5 separate regions of the Homo sapiens genome follow, and all the other regions are linked to region 4. The links are contacts of gene promoters, found by promoter capture Hi-C in blood cells and fetal thymus (Javierre and others, 2016). All regions are on one chromosome and are shown on one strand. Each heading gives the region's core, a stretch centred on a gene start or on the middle of the fragment in contact. The rest is flanking DNA. Distances are from core to core; before and after follow the strand shown. Region 1 has its middle 130 kb from the start of B3GAT2. Region 2 has its middle 110 kb from the start of B3GAT2. Region 3 has its middle 94 kb from the start of LINC01626. Region 4 holds the start of OGFRL1 (opioid growth factor receptor like 1). Region 5 has its middle 150 kb from the start of B3GAT2.

What was found. Contacts are between HindIII fragments. The CHiCAGO score rates a contact against its expected background, and 5 or more counts as called.
Region 1: a fragment that was not itself captured here is called in contact with the fragment with the promoter of OGFRL1 in region 4 in 1 of 17 cell types (neutrophils); the score reaches 6.2 in neutrophils.
Region 2: a fragment that was not itself captured here is called in contact with the fragment with the promoter of OGFRL1 in region 4 in 1 of 17 cell types (neutrophils); the score reaches 9.6 in neutrophils.
Region 3: a contact is called between a fragment that was not itself captured here and the fragment with the promoter of OGFRL1 in region 4, in 1 of 17 cell types (endothelial precursors). The highest score is 6.3, in endothelial precursors.
Region 5: a contact is called between a fragment that was not itself captured here and the fragment with the promoter of OGFRL1 in region 4, in 1 of 17 cell types (neutrophils). The highest score is 6.2, in neutrophils.

The regions. Positions count from the first base shown.
Region 1 is chr6:71,085,910-71,088,609 of GRCh38, reverse strand. No RefSeq gene overlaps it. Among named protein-coding and RNA genes, the nearest start is that of B3GAT2, 130 kb to the right of the region's middle. The HindIII fragment of the contact is 567 bases long and covers 1,001-1,567 here.
Region 2 is chr6:71,069,723-71,072,422 of GRCh38, reverse strand. No RefSeq gene overlaps it. Among named protein-coding and RNA genes, the nearest start is that of B3GAT2, 110 kb to the right of the region's middle. The HindIII fragment of the contact is 2,753 bases long and covers 35-2,700 here.
Region 3 is chr6:71,514,142-71,516,841 of GRCh38, reverse strand. No RefSeq gene overlaps it. Among named protein-coding and RNA genes, the nearest start is that of LINC01626, 94 kb to the right of the region's middle. The HindIII fragment of the contact is 1,728 bases long and covers 549-2,276 here.
Region 4 is chr6:71,287,361-71,290,060 of GRCh38, reverse strand. OGFRL1 (opioid growth factor receptor like 1) reads right to left here and starts at 1,250. Exons shown (of 7, transcript NM_024576.5): 1 at 891-1,250. The coding sequence starts at 1,124. The region is part of intron 3 of LOC124901339 (a long non-coding RNA gene); the gene reads left to right. RefSeq lists a silencer at 538-1,597. The HindIII fragment of the contact is 6,418 bases long and covers 1-2,700 here.
Region 5 is chr6:71,102,887-71,105,586 of GRCh38, reverse strand. No RefSeq gene overlaps it. Among named protein-coding and RNA genes, the nearest start is that of B3GAT2, 150 kb to the right of the region's middle. The HindIII fragment of the contact is 2,018 bases long and covers 271-2,288 here.

The sequences.
Region 1 (2,700 bases), core at 35-2,534, 200 kb after region 4:
TAGATTTTCTGAATGTTATAAAAGATGGAAATGACAACACCACTGATCACAAGGGATTTGAATTGACCAGAAATTGTTTAGAGACTGCGCTATAAAAAAAAAAAAAAAGAAAAATCTGTTTCCTAAGTGTGCTGAAATGTGTTTACAGCCTTACATAAATTATTGAACAGTCAGCATCCTGAAAGCACATTTACACTTTCGTCCTTGGAAATGAATCAAATGTGTAATGAGGAAGACCAGAGCAGAGATGTAAAATGATTCCAGGCTGTCTACATTTACAGTATAATGGGCTTGGTGGGATTAAGATATGACTTAAAGGTTCACATCACTAACCTCTTTATGTTTCATCGCTCTCTTTGTGCAAAAAAGGTTCTGACTAAGTGAGCCCTATGTTTCTTACAGCTCCAGAGATTAAGGCTATGCTTTTCAGTATGGCCATGTAATATTTTTTTGACCTCAATCTAATTTTTTTTTAACCCAGGCCTCAGTGTAATAACTTATCATGCTCTTGTCTTTACGTTTCCATTTATAATGATTTGAAACTTTCCTCTCTTCAACAGTAGGAAACTTTTCCACTTTTCAACAACCCAAATCTACTTATTCCTTGGCCTACACCTGCAAATCTCATGTTTCACAGATTGTAGTTAGGGTCCTACCTAGTAACTACACTCTGAACTAGCCTGAAGTTTTTTTCCATCTCAGTTACTCACTCTGTCACTCACAACTCTTTAATTCATTTCTAGATCACATAGAAGCTTTTGAATATATATTAGTTCTCTATTGCTGCAAAACAGGATGAGAGATGGAACTGAAATGGGGTGAGGGTGAGTTCACTGAAAGTCTTTATGAGAATGACAGTGCACTTCAGATTCCCCACCCTAATCCTCATCCTTTATCTCTCGTCACTATCCCAACACTAAGGGCATAGTAGGGCATTTTACTCCTAGTCAAGATAGAGGGGTCATTTCTAAAGCAACTGAATTAACCATCTGGAAAAGCTTAAGGTTTAAGGTGTGGGATTGGAGTTTCAGCTAGCTTCCTACCAGCTAGTGCTTATCAGCAGACACACCCTGCCCTACCTCGTGATCCATATATGCACAGTATACTCAGAGCGATGTCCTGCCTATGGAAAAACTCACCTACTGTCACAAAGCAGGTGTGATATGTAGGTAGAGAGATTCTTCTGGCATCAACATTAGCATCAACATTAAAAAGAAAAACCAAGGCAAACTAACAGAAAATCTGACTCTGTTATCTGAAATGTTATTCAGGAGACAAAAGAGCACTAAAAAAAATAAAGCTACCAAGCACTGGGATGAGGCCATAGGAGACTAAGAAAAATAAGCAATGTTAGTAATATCTTTTGAAGAGAAAAGAAAGAAAGAAATGTCCATATCAAAAAAAAATATGCTTGCAAAGAAAATTTATGGAAGGACTACAGGTAAAAATAACAAGTATACCTTATTTAAATAAGCTGATTTTAAATTCAGAAACAAGCATAGAATCATAAAAAATATATATGTTAAAAAACGTCTCTGGCAGAAGGAATATCAGTTTCTATTAAGCTTTGAAGAATTTCTTCTCTTTCTCACTGCTACACAGGGAGGGAAAATTATATTCTAAGGTAGAAACAGAGGTGGCCTGGAAAGAGATGCTTGGGCCATCTTCCGAGGTCAATCACAGTGTGATCCAGAAAGCACTGAGTTCAGAGCAAGCAAACCTTGTGAAATGGGAGGTTTTCCCTTATTCCCCTCACCAGGTGTGCAATGGTGGTGTGGCTCACTTCTTTGGTGCTCCACTGCTCAAACCCCTAGGGGAAGCATGAGGATGGTCAGGTCATGGGGGGCAGTTTTGGGCTCCGACCCATGGCAGCATCTAGGGTTGAGTGTTTCCAGCTCCCGAAGCCCCAGTGGGTGTGTGTTACAGTGTGCTCTTTCGGCTTTGCTGTCTGCAAGTGGCTTGTGTTAAACAGCTCAATTAGACCCTTTGCCTTATTTCAAGGACAGCGGGCTTTCTGTATCCCAGGGTTCTTGCCCTAGTGTACTGGAAAAATCGGATCATGAAACAGGAGTGTTTGTCCTCACTTGGGTCCGTGGGCACAGGCCCGAGGGTGGAGCCCTCGCCAGGGACCCAGCCCTTCTCTACCCAGCACTTCCCTGACCCTCTACTGTATCACTTGGGCTCTAGTTCTGTCCCAGCCGGTAATTACTGAGCACCCTTAAACAAATCATTTCACATTTATGGGCCACTTCGTATGTAAAATGAGGCCATTTAATTACATGATCTGTGAGGCCCATTTCAGCTATGAATTGGTGATTTTTTTTTCACAGAGAGACTTCAGAAATGTACCAAAAGCAAAATCTGAACTAAGATGACCCATTTTTTGCTCTATTTTTATTCAAGAGAAAACAGCAGCATACAGACCACAGCCATTCAAGAAAGCCTCACCATCTACCTAAAGAATAGTTTTACATCCTCACTTTGAAATAGACATTTTGAAATACACCTAAACATACAGACAGAGAATAGAAATATACCAAAGGACATGTCGATACAAAGTAACATTTTTTAATTTATGGGGAAATGGCAAAAAATAATATCATGGCTTGATGTGTGGAGCTGATCAGAGTCCTGAGTGATGAGTAGGATTTACTTCCTGAGTCTGGATTTGTTAGAGCATCAACCATAAAAACAAAATTA
Region 2 (2,700 bases), core at 162-2,661, 220 kb after region 4:
TTGCCCTAGGTAATCCCTAAGACTTCTTTAAGCTTTAGTATCCTATTCTTATTCATCCGATGATTCTGAGAAATTCCACCTATGAACGCTAAAGCACATTTAGCCTGTGGCTTCTCAAGCAAGTATCATAGAAACAGAAATTATAAGTAGTTATTATATCAGGTGAGATCTCACATAAATAGGGTACGTGTGTTCCTTATAAGTGCGTTGCAGAAATGGCAAAGTGATTTTCTGGTATTTCTTGAGTTTATGACAGTGTTGCATGCAAATGCTTTATCTTCCGTAAGAGATACTGTGTTCCTGGTGTACTTTGTTTATGAAGAGTCTTGCTCGTATTTATATATATTTTTAAACTTCAGTAAAAATAATCATCAGAAAAAATAAATGCACCTAAATGTCCCAAATTCCATGTCTAACTATTGTTATATTAAGCCCCATTTGTCTCGGCTTTTTAGAACTAGAATCTAAACAAAATATTCACTTAATAAATAATTGGTATATTCATGTAAATATATGGCATTTTTGGCTTAATGATGGTGTTCAAGTTTTTCTACACCCTACTTCCTCTGTTGTTCTGTGATTTGATGGCCTATTTTTTGTGTATACTTATATAGAAACTGAAGGGCTCTGCAGAGCGTACATTATCCTCATTCTAAAGGGTTAGATAACAAAGGACCAAACTTGGGCCACAGCCCAATTGTTCATTTTTATTTTGGTGAGAACATTTCATTATCTTCCTGTAGGATCTAATAAAGTATTGTTTAACTGCTTCTGAGTAGTTCTTATAAACTATTCTATGTACCTCCTATTCTACTTGATTTCATTGAAAGAATGTCTCCAATTGAATTGTGATAGATAGCAACTCAAGATTGGTTTCTACAGAACAAAATAGTAAACCCTAAGTCACACTTCCCTTTGAAATCCTGCATCTTGGCAGGTGTTATTAAAACTCTTTGGTTTGCATTTAAATAAGGTGCTAATTTATTCCTTTACACGATTTTTATGAGAAACTAATTTTCCAGAGCATTTTCAAATCTGTGGTTTAATATTTGCAGACTTGAAGAAATACTGTTTTGCTGCCAGCATCTGGTCAATGACATATTGTTTATTTCCCGATGCACTATCAGGCACAGTTTTAAATAATAAAGGCAGATTACATTTATTCTTCTTTAATAAAAGCAAATTCTATGTCTTACTCAGTAATCATTTTAAAAGAATCAAAATACAGTCAATAAAAATAAATTAATCATTTTTGCCATTTACTTTTCCACAAATTAATGTTAATTATACTTAGATGGAAATGTCTTTGCTGTCAAATTCCTCCCAGAAAACATATTATGTCTGATTTTTTTTAATTCTGGCTTTATTTGGATACTCAGAGGGTATAAAAAATCTACTAGACCTTTTAGTATAATTATAATAGTGACAATATATTTAATCTGAGATTTTGGTTTTACCAAGGCAATAAGAAACAATCATAGTTTATTTCCAACCATCGAATCTATAATCCCTCATTGTCAATTGCCCTTAGATCCTATGGGAACTTTTTCCCTGAAGGGGAAAAAGAAGACCTTGAGAGCTTGTAGCCTAGGAAAATGACATACTGAAAAGGAAATATTGAGTAAGGAAATAACTGAAAAGTAAGCCAAAGAGAAAAACTAACACTCACCAACAATCTGAAAGTCTGGTATATTTTATTTATAAAATTTTTGTTTTTCAGTGTTGCATATGGAAATTTGTAAAATAAAATAAAATTTTTGTTTTATCTCAGATACATGGCCATAAAGCCATTTTGAACATTTTATGACTAAAACCCAAAGTCTACGTCCTTCTGTATTATATTGTAGCAAGAGAACTCTTTGTGCTAATTGTGTTACTGATGCTACTGAATTTGCCATTCATATCACAGCTTTTCAGAATTTTGATTACCCACAATGGTTATATTTTAAGGGAAAACATATATTTTATCTGCTAAAGAGTTCATAGCATTTGACCATCCCAAGTTCTTATTTGCCCCCCTGAGACAGGGAGACAGGGATTTTACCAACTTACAGATGTAAAACCCTGAGCACCCAGAGACTAGTTTACTGTTTTACCAAAGGTCACACCAGCTGTGGCAGAGCTAGGATCAGAAAACCAAGCTGAGCTGGTTTTTCCACTCGTGTGTTTTCTACACACTCCAAGGTTTTGGCTTCTATTCTTCTTTCAGGTTTCAACACAATTTAGTGGACATTTAATGATGAGAATAACATATGCTTTCTTGATAAACAAAAATGCACCATGGCTATGCTCAAACAATCAAGTCATCTCAGTGTTTGTGAATCTTCTTTCTCCTCTGCTTCCTGCAGAACAGGGAGGTATTTAATATCAATTAAAGATGCATTTAATAGTTTTCACTGAGGCTGAGCCATCTGTTACCAGTTCTGTTCAACTTACGGTTCTAGAAAAAAAATATTCCTCAATACCTGAATTACATGAACACCATTTCAAAGTTTGTATTCATTCACTATCATCCCAAAAATATAAAAAGTTTAATATAGGAAATTATTTGATTTACCAAATTTAGATTGTTATCTAGGCAAGAAACCTCCCAATTTTAAAAAGGAAATGAGGGAAGAGGTTTGGTAAAGATTGAAAAGATGAGAAAGGAACAAAGTTAGTATGAAAAATTAATTGAGAGAATGATAAAATGATGTGAAA
Region 3 (2,700 bases), core at 163-2,662, 230 kb before region 4:
TCTGTGATGTTTGCACAAAGACAAAATCTTCTAATGATGCATTTCTCAGAACTGCCCCTGTCATTAAGTGACATATGACTGTATATACATACACATACATATACACATATATATTTACATATATCTAATAAGTACATGTATATCATCTAAAATGACCTCCCCTCAAGAAATATCAATCTTAGCTTTTTGAGACGTAAATTTTCAAGTTTATTTATATTTATATTTAACATAGCAGTAATGCATGCACCTGAAATAAAATTTTGAAGTGACCTAAAACTAATATTGTTATTAAATTTTTAAAATATTTGTCTATCTCCAAATAATAATTTTTAAAGTGTAAACATCACCTAACATTATTTTCAATTAGTAAACTACTTTTAGAGCAGTTTTAGGTTCACGGCAAAATTGAACAGAAAGTTGAGAGTCCACGTATACCTTCTGCCCCTGCATATGCCTCCCTTACTATTAACATTTGGCACCAAAGTGGTACATATTTAAACATCCACGAACTTAGAATGATGCATCGTTATCACCTAGAGCCTGAAGCTTACCTTAGGGTTCACTCTTGGTGTTGTACATTCTTAACATATTACTTTGCCATATTTGCTGAACTTGTTTCTGTTTAAAAAAATAAAACATTACATATTCAGTTAAAGCCCTTTTGTACCTCCTCACTCCCTTCTTTTTACACAGTATGAGTGCCCACATGCACACACAGCCACCCATTGCCCTCACCATCTTTGTAAAGATAAACAATATTTTAATGTTGGTGGATGTTTTGCTCTCCTTTAAAAAATAATATTACTACATATGCATGTATAGTATAGTGTAACATAGTATGCTATAATATAGTGATATAATTTCTTAAACTTTTACTCGACTTTCTCAACTAAATGTCTTTAAAGTTGTGATAAGGGAAAGCATACGATATATATAATTTTGTAACTTGCTTTTTTCACATGACATGTTTTCATGATAAACCCATGCTGATATATATGAATCTAGTTTATTTAAATTGCCATACAATATTTTATTTGCTAACTATATCAAGCTATATGTATTTTTCTGCTGATGGATACATAAATTATGTGCTCTTTTCTGAATTTATAAATAATACTACAAATAATACATATTCTTTCTGCATATCTATGTTCATGTGCCAACATTTCCCTACATTACATAGACCTAGGAGGAGAATTTTAAGGTTTTAAGGTATACATATCTTCAGTTTTCCTAGGTATTGGTAAACTATTCTCCAATGTAGTTATGACAATTTATATTCTTACCAACAGCTGGCATTGTTAAACTTTTAATTTTGGTCTTTCTGATAGTTTGAAAATTGACTGTTGTCTTAATTTGCATTTCTCTAATTACAATTTAGGCTGCATATTCTTTCAAATGATTGCTAGTCATTCAGGTGTCCTCTTTCAAGAATTGCCCTTTAACCTTTGCTCGTTTTCCATTGGATTTTAAATCTTTTTCTCATTGACTGTAGGAGTGTAAGAGCTCTCTATGTACTCTGGTTACTAATCTTTTGTCTGCTGTGTGTCCCACATACCTTTCTTGTTTGATTACTTACTTTCCTTTTTTTTTTTTTTTTTTGAGATGGCGTCTCTGTCTGTTGCCCCGGCTGGAGTGCAGTGGCACAATCTTGGTTCACTAGAACCTCTGCCTCCCAGGTTCAAGCAATTCTCCTGTCTCAGCCTTCTGAGCAACTGGGACTACAGGCGCATGACACCACGCCTGGCTAATTTTTGTATTTTTAGTAGAGACAGGGTTCCACCATATTGGTCAGGCTGGCCTCGAACTCCTGAACTGACGTGATCCTCCAGCCTCAGCCTCCCGAAGTGCTGGGATTACAGGTGTGAGCCACCACATCCGGCCTTATTACTTACTTTCAACCTGTGTATGATGTCTAATGTCACACAAATTTTTAATTTTAATATATTGCACTCATTAATCTTTTCCTTTATGATTTATGCTCTTTGTGTATGCACTTAGGTTTACTTCCATAGAATAGAAACATAACTATTTGGCTTAAAAAAACTGTAAATATGTTGAAACTTGATAAAACATTCAAATTGTTTGAATTATTGAAGAGTTAGTACATTTACCATCAATCTGTGAGAGAACTGATTTACCATATTCTTGTAATGGTTAATCTTATGTGTCAACTTGGCTAGGCCACAGTTCCCAGATGTCTGGTCAAACACATCTGGATTTTGCCATGAAGGCATTTTCTACATGAGATTAACATTTAAATCAGTAAGTAAGCTTTGAGTAAAGCAGATTACCCTCCATAATGTGAGTGAGCCTCATTCAATCATTAAAAGTCTTAAGAAAAAAAAAACTGACCTCTCCTAAGGAAGAGGAAATTCTACAAAAGGCTGCCTTCAGCCTCAAACTGCAATATCAACTTTTTCCTGGGTGTCTAGACTGCTGGCTTATCCTGTAGATTTTGGATTCGTCAGGCTACACAATCACACTAAGCCAATTCCTTAAAATAAATCACTATCTCTCTCTCTCTCTCTCTCTCTCTCTCTCTCTCTCTCTATATATATATATATATATATATATATATACACATCCTATTGGTTCCGTTTTCCTGGGGAACTCTGACTAATATAGTTATATTACACAATGTTTTGTTTCCTTGTAAGTTAGATATATATGTAGCCCAGTGTCATTCATGGTTAATAT
Region 4 (2,700 bases), core at 1-2,500:
GCGGTGTTAGCTGTAATATTTAGGTTATGATTCCCCCAAAACCCTGTGGTCACATTGGACTTTGGGCTCCATTTTCCCAATCTCCATCGCCCCTAGCTGATAAAGAGAAGGGCCTAATGTGGAGCGGCAAACCTGAACCACCTCCAGGATGCACACTTCTTCAGGGGGTCGGCTACATATTTCCTCCTTTTTAAAGTTCCTGATTATTTTCAGTCCATCAGAGGTTAAGGGGCTTATCTCTTGACTAACCTCTCCTCCAAGCTGTATTAGTCAAACAGTTCAAACACAGTTGGATCAACAAGTCTTCTGGTGAAATAAGATTCGTGAAGAATGCCCTGAATCCTAGGTTGAAAGGCCTGAGTTGGGCAGAACAGTGACGTATGAACTTCAGATGAGGGCCTACACTTCTGACGGCTTAGACCCCACTGTAGGGGAGAGCGCTGGCTGCTTGCACTTGTAGCCCCACCTTATTCTGAGTAATTTTTTTTTTTTTTTTTTTTTTTTTTTTTTTTACCAATAACACACACTAGAGGGGTTGTCAAAATCCTCTATTTTTAGACAGGTTCCTCCCACCCCACCTTCGCATAATCCAGCTGCTCTGCAGAGGCAAAGAAAACACCCATTCAAGTTGGGTTCTGCCTTGAGGGACTTCCTCGCCGTGCCCTCGGCCAGGCCCCAGGCCGGCAGTGGGAGGGTCCGGCGCTTTGGGCTCCTGCAGGCCCCCGGGCTCCACCGGGAGACAGGTCAGCCGCGGCGCGGAGGGGTCGGGTCGCAGCGGCGAGCAGCCACCTGGCGCCCCTGGCCTCCGAGCGCGAGGGCGGCTTGGCACTTGCCCCTCTGGGGTGTCGGGGCGCCCCAGCCCGACCCGAGGCCACCGCTGGGCCGCGTACCTGCTCGGCGCCCGCCGCCTCGGCGTCCTCGTCCGGCGCGGGGCTGGCGCCGGGCCGCCCGCCGGCTTGCTCCGGGGGCTGCGCGGGCTGCTCGGACTCCTGCCCCGGGCCCTCGCTGCCGCCGCCCGGCCCTGGTTCTTCGGGCTCGGGCTCCGAGTCGGTCTGCCAGGTGGAGTCGCAGTCCTCCACGGTGGTGGGCTCGCGGAAGCTGACCCCGCCGAGCAGGTTGCCCATTGAAGAGGCGGCGGCGGGCGCGGGGCTGCGGGGCTGCGGGGCGCAAGCTGCGGCAGGCGCTCTAGGGCCCGGGCATGGCCGCGGCGAGGGCGCTGGGCGGCAGCCTAGGCGCGCCCGCCCCGCACTGCCTCAGCGCGGCGAGCGGCGGACAGGCACCCTCGCGGGGAGGAGCCGGCGGCCCCGGGACCGCCGCCGCGCGCGCCTGAACCCGCCCATCCGGCTCCTTCTCCTCCCCACAGGCGGGAGCTGCCGCCGCCCAGAGCCCCCAGGGGAGCCAACTGCGGCCCCCAGCCGAGCGCCACCGGCCCCAGGCCGCGCCTCCCTTCCACGTTTCTCCCCGGAACACCTGCCTTCACGCGGCCCCCGGCGGCCCCCGGAGTGGATTGGGGTCGGCTACTACCCTCGCCGCCCGGAGCCGGGGGACGCCCTCCCGGGGCATCTCCCAGCTGAGCGGGATGAGGGATCCCGCCCAGCTCCTGGAGCTGAGGACTGGCGTGGACGTGGTGTCGAAGAGGTGTCACCGTCAGCAGGCGGGTCCTGTCCACACCCCCTCCCCCTCTCCCTGGTCCAGGAGGAAGACACTTTAGCTGCAGCAGAGGACAAAAGCTGATGGTGCCGGGCACCATATAAACAGGAAATCCCAGCTGCCACAACTGTACTTAGGGCAGCCACCTAGAGTCCTTGTGGTCTAGAAAAAGTCAGAGCTATCAGTCACCTCATCTAATGAGCAATCGCTCGTGAAACAAAAGGAACAGTAACAACTGGACCATCACATTGATTTGCGGGTAACCTTACACCCACTACAAATTGGTGCTCCGTGTAGGCAAAAATCTCAGAATCAGTAGAACAGATGGGCTGTTTCTAATGGAAGAAGCCTCGGCCCTGTGGTCTGTTCTGCAAATGAAAGGAGGAGGGAGAACTGTGTTAGGGAAGTTCTTTCTTTTTTCTGTTCTGTTCTGTTCTGTTCTGTTCTGTTCTGTTCTGTTCTGTTCTGTTCTGTTCTGTTGTTCTGTTCTTTCTTTTCTTTCTTTTTGAGACAGAGTCTCCCTCTGTTGCCCAGGCTGCAGTGCAGAGGCGCGATCTCGGCTCACTGCAACCTCCGCCTCCTGGTTTCAAGCAATTCTCCTGCCTCAGCCTCCCAATAGCTGGGATTACAGGCATAAGCCTATAGAAGTACGTAAAGATAAGGTAGTATTATCAAATATGTGACCCAGAGAAAAGTGACTGTTGTAAAATGTGTCTTCTGGCTTTCTAACTAGAAGGGAAGCCTCTTTGCAGGCAGCCCCCGTCTGAAAGTGTGTCTGTATTTACAGTGCTGTCAACTTGGTGGATGCTCAGTAAACATTTGTTAAATATGGACTAAGAAAGATGAGCTAGATATTTGAAGATTAAACTGTTGAACTTGGAATGAATAGTTTCTTTTCAAATGTTTCATGATGAAGTAGGAAGCCAAATCATGTTAGATGGACTGTTTCTAAGGGAAGAATCAGGTAAACCAGCTGCCTATTCCATGGATAAATCAGGATTACCTAAGCTCTTCATGCACTGCAACAAGACATCTAGGCTGTAGCTCTGT
Region 5 (2,700 bases), core at 30-2,529, 180 kb after region 4:
CTCTGAATGTCTAACCTGCTAGGAAGAGAGACCAATATTGAGCCCCCAATATGGTTTATTCCTCAGAGACCAACTGACCACTGGGTGGCAAGTTGCTACCGGGGACCCCTTCTATCCTGGAAGGGCTGGCATTCACTCTCCCAGGGCTGGAAACCTATCCCCTGTATGGTTTTCCTTCACCTGTCCTCAAAACCTCATCCAGCACCACTATCTGGGGCCTAATTCATAGGCTTGAGATCCACACAGACTAGTATCTAACCGGGGCAAGCTTAAGGGAAATGTGGAGGGAAGCTATTACCACCCCGAGGAAAGAGTGAATCTGGAGTCTAGTGAGAATGGTAACTATGAAAGCACATGGAGGGGCACAGCCTCTGTTGGACCAAAGCAGGGAAGACTGGCAGAAAAAAAAAAATCTGAAACTTTTTATCCACCTTCCCTTCAATTTCGTGGTTCTTCCTCCCAGCCACCCGCCTCACCCCCATTGCCTGAATCCAACCTGGTGATGATATCCCAAAGTCTTCACCTTCTGGGAAATAGAGCAAGGCACAGAACAGAAAATGGATCTGGAAAGAGGATAAATGGAGGCTACTGCACACTCTGTCACTTCCCTCACCATGAGATATGGGGGATTGTGCCCCTGACCACTTGTTATATCACACAGTGTTCATGCAGAAGCAGCCAGCCTCATAGAGTTTGGGAATGGCTTTGTGAGGGCACGCTGAAGTGCCAGCTCAGAGACAGCACTCCGAAAGATAGGGTGCCATCCTTCTTGATACACTGTACACATTAAATTAGAAATTTCAAAATGGCACTCTCACCACAGCAAGAATACCTGGGTTTAGGAATGGAAGGGTTCTTCTCCCTGTTCCACTGTACTGTGGATGCACATGTGCAATAGCCCCAAAGCAAGGGTGGGATTACCAAGGGTTTTGACCCTGCAGCAGTGAAGGTTTGAATCACACCTTCCAAAGGCAAACCACCACAACCTGCTGAGGGGACAGCTGAGGGTGATGGGAATTTAGAGTAGAGAGTGGAGGACGGGGAGGAAGAGGAACGCATGTGGCCCTGAGACCAACTACAGTGGCAGGGACTTAGTTTGTTCTTAATAGAGTAACCTGCCTGTCTTAGTCTGCTCAGGCTGCTATAACAACAAACAGACAAACAAACAAACAAAACATCAACTGAGTGACTTATAAACAACAGAAATTTATTTCTCACAGTTCTGGAAGCTGAGAAGGCCAAAGTCAAGCTCTCACCAGATTCAGTATCTGGTGAAGATTCATTGCCTGATTCACAGGTGGCGCCTTCTAGCTGTGTTCTCAGTGGTGGAAGGGGCAAGGCAGCTCTCTCGGGCTTCTTTTATAAGGACACTAACCCCATTAGGAGGTGGGGCCTTTAGGAGGTGATTAGGTCATGAGGGCTTTGCCCTGCCAAAGGCCCACCCCCTAATACCACACTGGGGGTTAGGTTTCAACATACGAACATTCCGACCATAGCACTGCCTCTTTTAAGTTTCTCCTCAGAGAGGCCCACTGGAATCATTGAGGTTCTATTCCCAAACCTGGATGGAAAAAGTACATCTGTTCAGTACAAGGGGTGGATGTTATTGGCCATGAAAAGGAGCTTCCCAGATGTGCTGCAGCAAAGAGCACAGTGAGTTGACAGCCCCAGGGGCTGCCACACTCCTGCCTGGGCCCCATGTGCCTCAGCCTGCTGCTCCCTGCTAATGGTGGAGCATAGTAGGTGAACTACAGCAGGCTCTGCCTGTGAGACTCAGCACTCTTCTAATGGGCTCAGGGATTCCCTGCTGGCCTGGCCAGATCTTTCCCAGAACTGCTCCTCTGTGTGAGATTCTCGCTACCCAGTCCAGGGCTTCCTCTTCTTCACAGGGCTCTGACCTGCATCACAAGCTGAGGCTGTGTCTCAGAGGAACCACACAGGCAGTGGCGTTCCTAATGGCAGGACTAGCTTTTTAGCTCAATGATTTGTGGTTGGTTCAAGTCCTTCAAGAAGCAGCTGCTAAGATAAGACCCATTTATTGGGGGGCCCACATGTGAAGAATAAAGGGGGAGATCCAGAGAAGGCGATCCAGTGTTCACTTGACTGATGGCCACCAAAAAGATAAGTCCATATCCCAGAACCTGGGAATGTGGCCATATCTGGGGGGAAAAAAAAGAGTCTTTGCAGAAGTAACAAAGTTAGGGATCTTCAGATGACATCATCCAACATTATCCAGATGAGCCATAAATCCAATGATAATGACTTATAATGGAAAGACAGAGAAAGCTTTGGGGCAGAGATTGGAGTGATGCAAGCCAAGGAATTCTTTGAGCCATCAGAAGCTGGATGCAGTAAGGAAAAATTCTCCCACGAGCCTCTAGAGGAAGCACAGCCTTGCTGACACCTTGATTTAAACTGGCCTCCAAAACTGTGAGGGAATAAATTTCTGTTGCTTGAAGCCACCAACTGTGTGGTAATTTGTTACAGCTGCCCTGGCAAATTAATACTGGTAGGAAGAGCCTTCAGATCATAATGGAGGTCAGACCTTATAATGAGCAGGGAGGAAGGATGGAGTAGAAAGAATCAGAGACTGCAGTGCGGTTCCAAGGAAGGCTTTGCTAAGCCAATGAGGAGTACTCAAACCTGTTAAAGAAGTCTCTCCTTTGTCCTCCACAGGCTTTCCACCAATGAACCAAGACA